3 separate regions of the Homo sapiens genome follow, and regions 2 and 3 are each linked to region 1. Evidence: promoter capture Hi-C in human tissues and cell types (Jung and others, 2019). All regions are on one chromosome and are shown on one strand. Each heading gives the region's core, a stretch centred on a gene start or on the middle of the fragment in contact. The rest is flanking DNA. Distances are from core to core; before and after follow the strand shown.

Region 1 (3,342 bases), core at 387-2,886:
GGCTAAAGCCAGGGATCCTTGCAGAGACAGGATTAAGGTATCAGGACTGTTCACATCTCATTTACATCACCCCGAAGAGTGGACCACAGGTTTTGCTGATTAGTACACAGACTATGGCAAAGGGCATTGTGTATTTGAAATAAGATCAAGATCAGTAACAGTAACAGAAACTATGTGTGAAATTTGGCATATGGCGGTTCCTCTGAAGGATTAGCTAACTGGGTTTCCCGCACTTACTATTTTTTAAAGCATTTTTCCAAACCAGGAAGTTAGCAAAAGAAAAATGTCCCCCAATTCCCTCCGCCTACCCCACGTTCTGAAGCACATATATTTATGCCACCTTCTGGCCTCTAATAATATTATTTATTGTCAAAATTTTGGATCCTTTTGAAAGGAAGGTGGGGCGTATTTCCACAGTGTCTTCGCAGGCAAAAGAAAGTGGTAGATTGAGTATGAAGGCAGACAAATCAGGCTACTACCATTGGAGTATTTTCCATTCTTTCAATTTGTATTGTTCCTTCATCTTGGAGTTTGCAGTCAAGGTAACGATGATGCAATTATCTGCTTTCCTGGAGTTTTAGGTACCTACTAGGGGATGAATGTATTTCAATGGGAGGAGGGTGTAGAATGATGCCTATAATAATACGAATTATTAGGAGCTGTTAATTATCTGAATGTTATCCGGGCATTAGTAATGCCTCTCCAGTATATCTACCTTTTATGGATGAGACTGTACATTTAATAGGAAAAGTACCAGTGGGAATTGACAATTAGCAGCCACGCTTGAGCTAGATGCAGCGTGGCATGTTTTATCCAGCTTAGATAGTTGTCGACCAAACAGGCCAAAGTTTTCTTCAGTAGAAAATGCCCTGCCAAATGGTTTCTGGATCCTTCGCGGACAAACAGCAAAGGAGCTGAAAGCGACCTCTTTCAACCATGCCAGAAACTGTCCATGGCGCTTCTAGATTCACAAAATCTGTTTTAGACACAGATGTCTTTAACCAAGATTGGAAACCCACTGGCCGTCCCATCCCAAAGTAAAAAGTGCCACGTCCTCCCATCCTCCGCCTTCCTTGGGATGTCAGCCCCGTTCTAATTCCTTTTTAGTTTCTCCTCAGCCCTCGGCAGGGCTGGCAGGGGGCTACCTGCGATTTCCCAACGTGGACGTGGACAATCGGATTTGTCTCTACCCAAGCTGGCAGCGGATGGGGACGAGTTCTGTTCCCGAGAGAGTCTCAGAAGTAGGCACGGAATCATCTCACCGATTTTAATTTCTGTCCCTGGGCTGGGGAGAGGGGAGGATTGGGGCGCGGGAGGCTCTGTTCTCCTCCTCCCCTCTTTTCCCCACCTCCCAAAATTGGCAGCCAGTCTGTGGCTCTCGGTCTGGGGTCTGGAGGGTGGGGAATGTGGGTGTGGGGGCCGGCTGGAGAAGCTCTCGCTAGCGCTGCCTGTGGCCAGACCCGCCTCTTGTCCCCTTTCGGGCGCACACACACGTCCACCCAGACACTCCGCGCGCTCCCTCGCGCTTTTGCTTGCCCGCCCGCCGCCGCCTGCTTTTTCCCTCCTGCTTTCGCCGGTCGCCTTCTCCTTCTTTTTTTTTTTTTTTTTTTTTTTTTTTTTTTTTTTTTTTTTTTGGTACCATAGAGTTGCTCTGAAAACAGAAGATAGAGGGAGTCTCGGAGCTCGCCATCTCCAGCGATCTCTACATTGGGAAAAAACATGGAGTCAGCTCCGGCAGCCCCCGACCCCGCCGCCAGCGAGCCAGGCAGCAGCGGCGCGGACGCGGCCGCCGGCTCCAGGGAGACCCCGCTGAACCAGGAATCCGCCCGCAAGAGCGAGCCGCCTGCCCCGGTGCGCAGACAGAGCTATTCCAGCACCAGCAGAGGTAGGAGGCTGGAGAGGGGCTGGGGAGGGGGCGGCGGGAGCCCGGGCGCGGAGCGGGGGGCGGCCGGGAGCGGGCGCCCGGGGCGCGGGGTCCGGCGGCCGCGCGCGAGCCTGCGGCGGCGCCCCGAGCCCGGAGGACCCCCCTCCCCTCCCCCCTCCGCCCCCCAGAAATGTTGCAAACTTTTGCAGCCCGTTCTCGGCTTGCGGGAGCAGAGTGGGGCGGGGGAGGCGGCGGGAAGGTTGACAGCCGGCGGGCTCACCCCCCTGGCTTTGATTTTTCTGCAAACACTGGAGGAAAGCTGCGTTGCCTCAATTAAATACGCTCCCCCAAAATACGGAGATGCGGGGAGTGGGGGCCCGGGAAAGAAACTTTTAAAGCGGCAGTGTCCTTTTAAGAAGGGGCAAAAAAATCTGTTTATGGCCACCCTCCTTCCGCTTTACCTTTTCTCCTCTTGACAGTTTCGGCCCTGGCTGCCCGAGTCGGGGGTGTGTTTTCGGTCCCTCTCAGATCTGGGCGGGGGGCGGGAGGAGTGAGCGACCTGGGAAGTCCCGGGGGTGGAGAGGGGGCGCTCCGGGGTCTGGGGGCGACGTGGACACCTTCTTTGGAGCACGGCGGTGCGTTTGGGATTTGAAGGAAGGGCCGAAGGAAGCGGGGTGCGGGCGGGCGAGCTGTTCGCCAAGTTGTCTGGCGGGCGCGGCGAGGGGAGATGCGCAAGTTTGCAGACCGGGGGTTCGGAGCCCGGCGCCCAGGCTGGCGGGGGGCGTGTGCGCGCCAACGCGCAGAGGGCGGCGGTCCTGTGGGGCGCTCCACGCGCATCCGGAGGGAGCGTCTACAAAAGCAAGCACCGAAACTTATTTCTGCTCTGGGAATCCTTCCCTCTCGGAGGTTCCAAGCATTTCTGCAGGAACCTGGGGATGGTCAGTGCAAGTTGTATGCTGGTTGGATAGTGCAAGCAATGTTTTCTCCTCCCCTGGCGATTTTTACTCTTCATTTTGGTGTTTGGTCTGTGTCTGCGTGTGTTGGGGGGGATGGGGGGGACTCAGTTGCTCCCTCCTTTCCTAAAGTGAGCTGTTGAGGAAAGCTCACTCTTTCTTGAAGGTATTGGAACCTGATGTGTGTTTTTCTCGAGAGTGGGGGATTATTTATTTGAATGCGCCTGGAGTTTGCAAAGAACAGGAGGAAGCTACAGCTTTAATTACTGTTGTAAATAATGTATAAATCGCGCCTGTCACTCCGGAGGAAGCGTGCTCGCGCGAGCCGCCTGGAGCTGGGGACGGAGAGGATTTCTCCAGCCCCGGCTTGGGTACCGGCCCAGCGCGCCCCCTCCTCTTGCACTCGGCTTCTGGCGGCGGTTGGGGAGGGCTGGGTAGAGGCGAATGGGGGCCCCAGGAACTGCTCCCTTCCTCTCGATGTTGTAGTTGGAGGTAGGAATATGGCTGATCATGTGCTGGCTGTTT
Region 2 (3,342 bases), core at 245-2,744, 42 kb before region 1:
TATGGGAAACCATTTTAAGGAACAACAAAGAGAAACAGTATCAGGTGAGCCTTGAGATTAGATAAATGAAGAGAAGAGAAAATGGTAGGCCAATAATAAGGCCCACGATTTTATATACATGCAAGAATGTACAATTGAGGCAATTAGCAAGTTAATGCTGCCCCCCCCCCCCATAAAACCAAAACAAAACAAAAAAATGCTGCCTAAAATGTCTAGAAGTCTGTAGCAATGTTTGTTTAACCTGAATTTTCTAAAAGATTTTTAGAATGTTAAACATTTCTCACTTTGTTCACGGTCACCTCTTAAAAGCAATGGGCAAAAAATGTAGAGTTTGGGTCAGACATTTGCGGGTTAGAATTCTGCGTTTGAAACTTACAAGTCACTCAACCCTCAAGGCATTCATTTCCCCATTTGTAGAATGTAGAGGAAGCATTAATGCATGGTAGAATTATGCACATGAGGAACCATAAAAATGTGGAGGAATCACTAATGCATATCAGAATTACATACATGGAAAGTGTAGCCCACTGTACACTAAACCCTTAATTGAACATGAATGAAAATAACCTAGTAGGTTGTAACTAAGTTTTATTTATGTCTTTAAATTTCTGACCATTCACCAGGATATAACTCTTGCTAAATAAGAGTAATATTGGCCTTCTTGCTTCCTATAATGGAAAGAAGAAGAATATCTATGCAAGAAATAATAATAACAAAGTGCAAGATATTGCTGGCTGTGCTGTGTGTGATAGAGGATAAAATAAGTGATTGATTTTTCACGAGACGACTGTGCTGTTTTGGGTATGTGTACATATGGGCATGCCATTTCTTTTATTTGCTCCTTGTTCTTTTTCACCTAGACCAGGGCATCTCAAACACTAATGTGCATATGAATCATCTGGACATCTTGTTAAAATGCGGATTCTGGGTCTGTAGGTCTGGGGTGGTGCCTGAGAGTCTGCGTTTCCAGCAAGCTCTCAGGTGATGCTGGTGTTGCTTGTCTGTAGATCACACTTTGATTCAAAGGGCCTAGGTTCTCATTTTCAGTCTTCAAAACCCAGCCCCTGGGTTCTTCCCTCCAGGAAGCCTTTTCTAACCTCGACACTGTCTCAGTCTTCAGTAAATATGCTAAGCAATTAAAACTGCAAGGCAACTCCTAGGCCCACCATATAAAATACAAGATTCCCAGTTAAATTTGAGTTTCAGAAAAAAAAAAAAAAAACAACTTAGACTATTGCATGGGATATACTTATGCTAAAAATCTATCTGTTGTTTATCTGAACTGCAAATTTACCTTGGTGTTCTCTAGTTTTATTTGCTAAGTCTGGCAACCCTACCTGCTACCCACCCATCCTGCCCCATTCCCAGCACATACAATTAGATTGCTGTCCCTGAACCTCTTTTAACCAGAAATTCCAGGGCAGGCACTGCCTCACAGACCCTTGTTTATGTCACTGTGGTAACCTGGGGCTGCTTCTAACTTTTCAGTAACTTCACAGAGATAAGCTCATTGTTGATGACAGGTCTTTTTCCTATTGGACTGTGAGCTACTTGGGAGTAAGGACTACATCTTCACCTGTGTCTCCCCTGTTTCTAGCAGAGTAAAATATGCACAGTAAATATTTGCCAAGTTGAACTGAGCTGAATTAGCTCAGATCCTGATTCGGCTGCTTTGGTTGATGGTAGAAAACGGCTTTGGCAGAGGTTGAAGGACCTTGAGGCTTTGGAAACAGGGGTAGGTCTGGGGTCAAAAAGAAACATGTTAATCTTTTCAGCAAAGATCTTGGTTCTTTAAAAAAAACTAATTAATCCAATCAAGGAATATTTGTCTACATATTAGCATCAAACTCTCTCTTAATTTCAACTAGAATAAGTACATACTCTACCATGCCCAAAATAAATTGCCCCACCTCTCCATATGACTTTTCTTCTAAAGGTTCATCTCCTACCTTTCTCTTTACTTGCCTGAGGACTAAAATCACATTCACTTAGATTAACATCATGTGGCACTTACTTTTTCTTCCTCAGTGATCTGCAATGGAGATTCGGTGGGTCTTACAGAATAGAACTAAATTTAAGGATATTGGGTCTTAAAATGTCTCCTGATGGATATTGGCCAAAGTGGCTTTCACCAATCCCTCCACAAATGTATGTTTGATTGCTTCTTTGCTAAATACTAAAGAGTCTTTGATTGTGTCCTGAAAGATGTAATCATTTTCAAATGTGCTTTCAACATTCAGCAGTTAAGCTTCACAGGGTGGAGTATAACTCCAAGGCCTATGTCTTCATGAAAGTTACTGGTACCCAAGTCAACATTTGGACCGCTTGTGTTTTCAGGAAGGGAGGACTCAAAAGCCCCTGCTTATCTCTAAAGCTGTCTGTATCATTCAGCCAAATGGAACTGCGATGAGGTTGTACTATGTGGCCACTCTAATGTTCTCCTTCATGGAAGCTGACATAGGGGACTTTTTGCCTCCAAAACCACACTGAGTCATGGAAGGCCTGTCACTAGCAGCAATTTTATTTTAATTCATTATTCAACATTTACACAAGCTTAGGCTTCATTTGGTATATGTAATAGCTAGCAAGCCAAGTTTCTTTTATGAAAACCGAGAATCCAAACAAAGAGTAATTACTCTGAGAAGGGAAAACCACTGTCAGTCAAATAGTGCCACTCTAAATATTGACACTGTATACTTTCTGCTCCAGGTTAACCAGTTAGAGCCCACTGGCCTGCAAGTATAATGCTACCTCTGGAACAAAAACTACATACAAAGATGAAGGTAAGGTATTTGATATAGGAAAATAATAGGGGAAAACTTGAAAGTCTGCGCAGCAACACAGGAAGCAGAAATGAAATGGTCAAAGTGATGAGGGAAGAAAGGAGAGTGCAGACCACATTTACAAGTTACAATAATCATAGCCACCATTAACTGGTACCTTTTAGCTACCTGCCCCCATGCTAAGCGCTTTATATGTGTTAGCTTATTTAGTACTCACACATACACACAAAGTATTTGGAGAAGTTGCATAATGCCCATTTTGCCCCACTGTCCCTGAGGTCTACATTAGCAGCTATTAACAGAGTAGAGGTCTTTGAGTCTTAAGAAATCAACTTTCAACAGCCCCTTGCTGTGGGTATCTTTATCATCCCACCTCCCAAAGTGGATCTCTGTTACCATTTGCTTTGTATTTTTCTTTTCCTTTATGACAGTTTATACTGAGCATCGTTTCATATCATGAATTTTCATGTGAAGGTGCTGGGCCTCTGGCTGAGCCCAGGCTAGAGGTATAGAAGCCTGTTCCCAAGGCAGGAGCAACTTTCTGATCCTAGAAAGCTAA
Region 3 (3,342 bases), core at 456-2,955, 38 kb after region 1:
CCTCAGTTACTGAGCACTGTACCCCTTATTTTGTAGCAGGTATGTCATTGTTGGTGAATGGGGTACCTGGGTCTTGGGTGCGGATGGTAGATATTGTCATCTTTTACTGATTGTATAGATTTTTCCTCTACTCTGGGTAGAGTATGCTGGATCCCTTGTAGCCTGGTTAGGAAACTGGCAATCCAGAGTAATTTGCCTTTAGGCATAAGCCAGTACAACATGTCACTTTTAAAATAAAACACATTAATTTACAGAATGACTATTTTATAGCGAAGAGCAGCCTGTCTAAATGAGAGGAATTAAAGGCCAATGGTCAAGTCCTCCGCATTATTCACACCACCCTTCTCAATAAATCACAATTGCTGAAACTGCAGGTTGGCACTTACTTAAATAGCACCGTGTTGGTTAAGGGTGACATGTGCTGACACGACCTCTGTTTGCATGCAACATGCTCTATGGAGAGCTACCGCCTAAAATCTACACGTAGCTCTGTCAACCCAAGTACCTTGTGCACCATTAAGCAAGGTTTAGATTAAGCCTGGACAGCAGTTGTATCTTCATTCTAGGCAGGCTTTTCTTAGAGAAGCGAAGCTTGAATGGCAATAGTATTTGACATTCAGACCTATCCCACTCTACAGACCTAATTTTTAAATATTCCTGTTATTTTATAAACCATCAGATTTTCAGAACAGATGCGAGACTACAGAATGTGAGGACACAGAATCATAAATGAGCCCATTGGTACCTTGGGTCTTGCTGAAGCTTCCTTGATGGACAGAGTTGTCCTTGGATTACTATGTGTGCTGCGTCTGCATGAGTACCACTTTACTGTTCTTATTGTTTGGGAAGGGAGAACCAATAAGCAGTCAGTGTCTCAATTCCATTGGAAGGAACGATAGAGGGGAAGATGAATATTTTAAAGGTTGGCAATGTGTTTATCTGCAAAGCACTGGGCTTGACTAAAATGGTTTTGACACAGCCTAAGAAGTACAATAGCCAGCCTTGTGGTGTCCTGGGACACATCTAAATGAATGAGGAAGGGGCTGGTTGTGTGGTGGTGTCATCTTCCCATTTCACATTTCACTCTCAACTATTAGATGTGCCCTTGATCAGAACTGATTTCTTTCTTTTTTTTTTTTTTTTGCTACAAGGAGATGGCAGCCTAGGTGTGCTTTCCTTTAAAAAATGTCAGCTTGTGAAATAATAATACAGATGACAATTCCTGAGTGTGTACTCTGCCAAGAGTTGTACCAGAGGCTTCATGTGTAGTGTTTCCATTCCGCATGATGATGGTGCAAGGAAAGTGCAGCTATTCCTATCTTTAGATGAGGAAACAGAGGTTCAGAGCTTTGCCCAAATCCGTAACGGTGGAGCCAGCCTTTCAATACAAATCTCTTCTGTTTTAAAGACTATGTTGTTTCCACTATATAATGCTGCTTCCCACATGGAAATGTGAATGTATGAAAAATCTCCCTGATGCATTTAGTATTTTTTTTTTTGGACCATTTCCTCTCAGCTGAAAGGCTAAAAATCAGCTTACGAGCTACTAACGATCAGTAAGGTGTTTGTGTTTTGTTTAGTTTTTAAGGAAAGCCAGTGGGAAAATGAGATTCATATATATAAGCAAAAGCATTTATACTTTATATAAATATATATAAAACCATACACACACACACATACATGCAAGCATTCTGTAATATACCCACTGGGTGATATGTCAGTTCTCCTTTGAATTCTTTTTTTCTTTTCTTTTCTTTTTTTGAGACAGAGTCTTACTCTGTTACTCAGGCTGGAGTGCAGTGGTGCCATTTTGGCTCACTGCAGCTTCTGCCTCCCAGGCTCAAGAGATCCTCCTTACCTGAGCCTCCCTTAGCCTCCCATAGCCTCCCTTAGACTCCCATTGTATTTTTTGTAGAGATGGGGTTTCGCAATGTTGCCCAGGCTGGTCTCAAACTCCTGGGCTCAAGCGATTTGCCCACCTTGCCCTCCCAAAGTGCTGGAGTTATTGGCCTGAGCCACCCACCATGCCCAGCGTCCTTTGAACTCTTTATGTAATCTATCTCATGATTTTATTTTTTAGGAAAGCATCTTCTGATATTTAAAGGTAGGCCTCACTTTATGCAGGACATATATCACTTTAGTTTCTATGCAACATCATGCTTTCCATGCACCGTGTAAAACAATCAATTTTATAGAACTTATTGGTGTCCCTTTTGTTAATAGGAAAATGCCCCTTGTAAAGTCAGGTTTTATTTTTGTGTGTGTTTCCTAATTTTAGCTCTGAGCACACTGATGTTCTTACAGCAAGACACACTGATTTTTTTTTTTTCTGGACCAAATACTAATTGACGGAGAAAAGTAATTTTTATTGATAAGCATGAGAATTAGCCTCACCAGGCTTTTGGAGTTTGAGGAACAGATAAACTTTAAAAGATATAATGAGCTTCACTTCAGGCCAATAGATATAAATCTCATTTATTCTTTTTATTAAAAATTGCAAAATTTCACCTGGTGTAGACATGTATTAATTTATTCATCCCTATTGACAAACATGTAGGTTGTTTGCAGTTTGGTATTGTTTTTTTTCCATGATAAATAATGCTGGAATAATGATGGATATCTGTGGTTTTTTTTTTTTTTTTTTTTTTTTTTGAGACAGAGTCTCGCTCTGTCACCCAGGCTGGAGTGCGGTGGTGCAATCTCGGCTCACTGCAAGCTCCGCCTCCTGGGTTCATGCCATTCTCCTGCCTCAGCCTCCTGAGCAGCTGGGACAACAGGTGCCCGCCACCATTCCTGGCTAATTTTTTGTATTTTTAGTAGAGATGGGGTTTCACCGTGTTAGCCAGGATGGTCTTGATCTCCTGACCTCGTGATCTGCCTACCTCGGCCTCCCAAAATTTTGGGATTACAGGTGTGAGCCACCACACCTGGCCAGATATCTGTTCTGTCTTCAGCACCTGGGGCCCTGTGGAGGCTGCAGCCCTCCTTCTTGCTGGGATATTGACATTGTGCTGGCCCCACAGGGCTCCTTCTCCAGCCATCCTTTGAATCATCTACTGCAGAGCAGCTAGGAGGTGGGAAACCAGATAGACAGGCTGGAGAAGATCCTCTCAAAAACAAGAGCCCATAGCTGCCGAGTGGGAGCCAGCAAATAGAGTGCGTGGATACAGGCACTGGATGTTATTTATGTCTTTCTCCTTTGTCGTTCTCCATTATTTTACCATTAACCTTAAGAAGGCAAAGATCATCTCATGTTCATTTTTAAATCTTTTATAATGTCTATCATGAATGTAAAAATGCGTTTATTCAAGGGACATTTAAGGACTGTGTTAAACACTAAGG

Evidence for each region. The method cuts DNA at HindIII sites, captures the fragments that hold promoters and counts their contacts. A contact is called where the count stands out against the background at its distance.
Region 2: a contact is called between a fragment that was not itself captured here and the fragment with the promoter of RORA in region 1, in 1 of the 25 tissues and cell types used here (liver).
Region 3: a contact is called between a fragment that was not itself captured here and the fragment with the promoter of RORA in region 1, in 1 of the 25 tissues and cell types used here (stomach).

The regions. Positions count from the first base shown.
Region 1 is chr15:61,227,596-61,230,937 of GRCh38, reverse strand. It overlaps RORA (RAR related orphan receptor A), which reads left to right and starts at 1,636. Exons shown (of 11, transcript NM_134261.3): 1 at 1,636-1,885. The coding sequence starts at 1,720. The HindIII fragment of the contact is 14,135 bases long and covers 1-3,342 here.
Region 2 is chr15:61,269,606-61,272,947 of GRCh38, reverse strand. No RefSeq gene overlaps it. Among named protein-coding and RNA genes, the nearest start is that of RORA, 42 kb to the right of the region's middle. The HindIII fragment of the contact is 7,673 bases long and covers 1-3,342 here.
Region 3 is chr15:61,189,167-61,192,508 of GRCh38, reverse strand. The region is part of intron 1 of RORA (RAR related orphan receptor A); the gene reads left to right. It overlaps LOC105370841 (a long non-coding RNA gene), which reads left to right. Exons shown (of 2, transcript XR_007064661.1): 2 at 1-3,342. Among named protein-coding and RNA genes, the nearest start is that of RORA, 38 kb to the left of the region's middle. The HindIII fragment of the contact is 3,527 bases long and covers 1-3,342 here.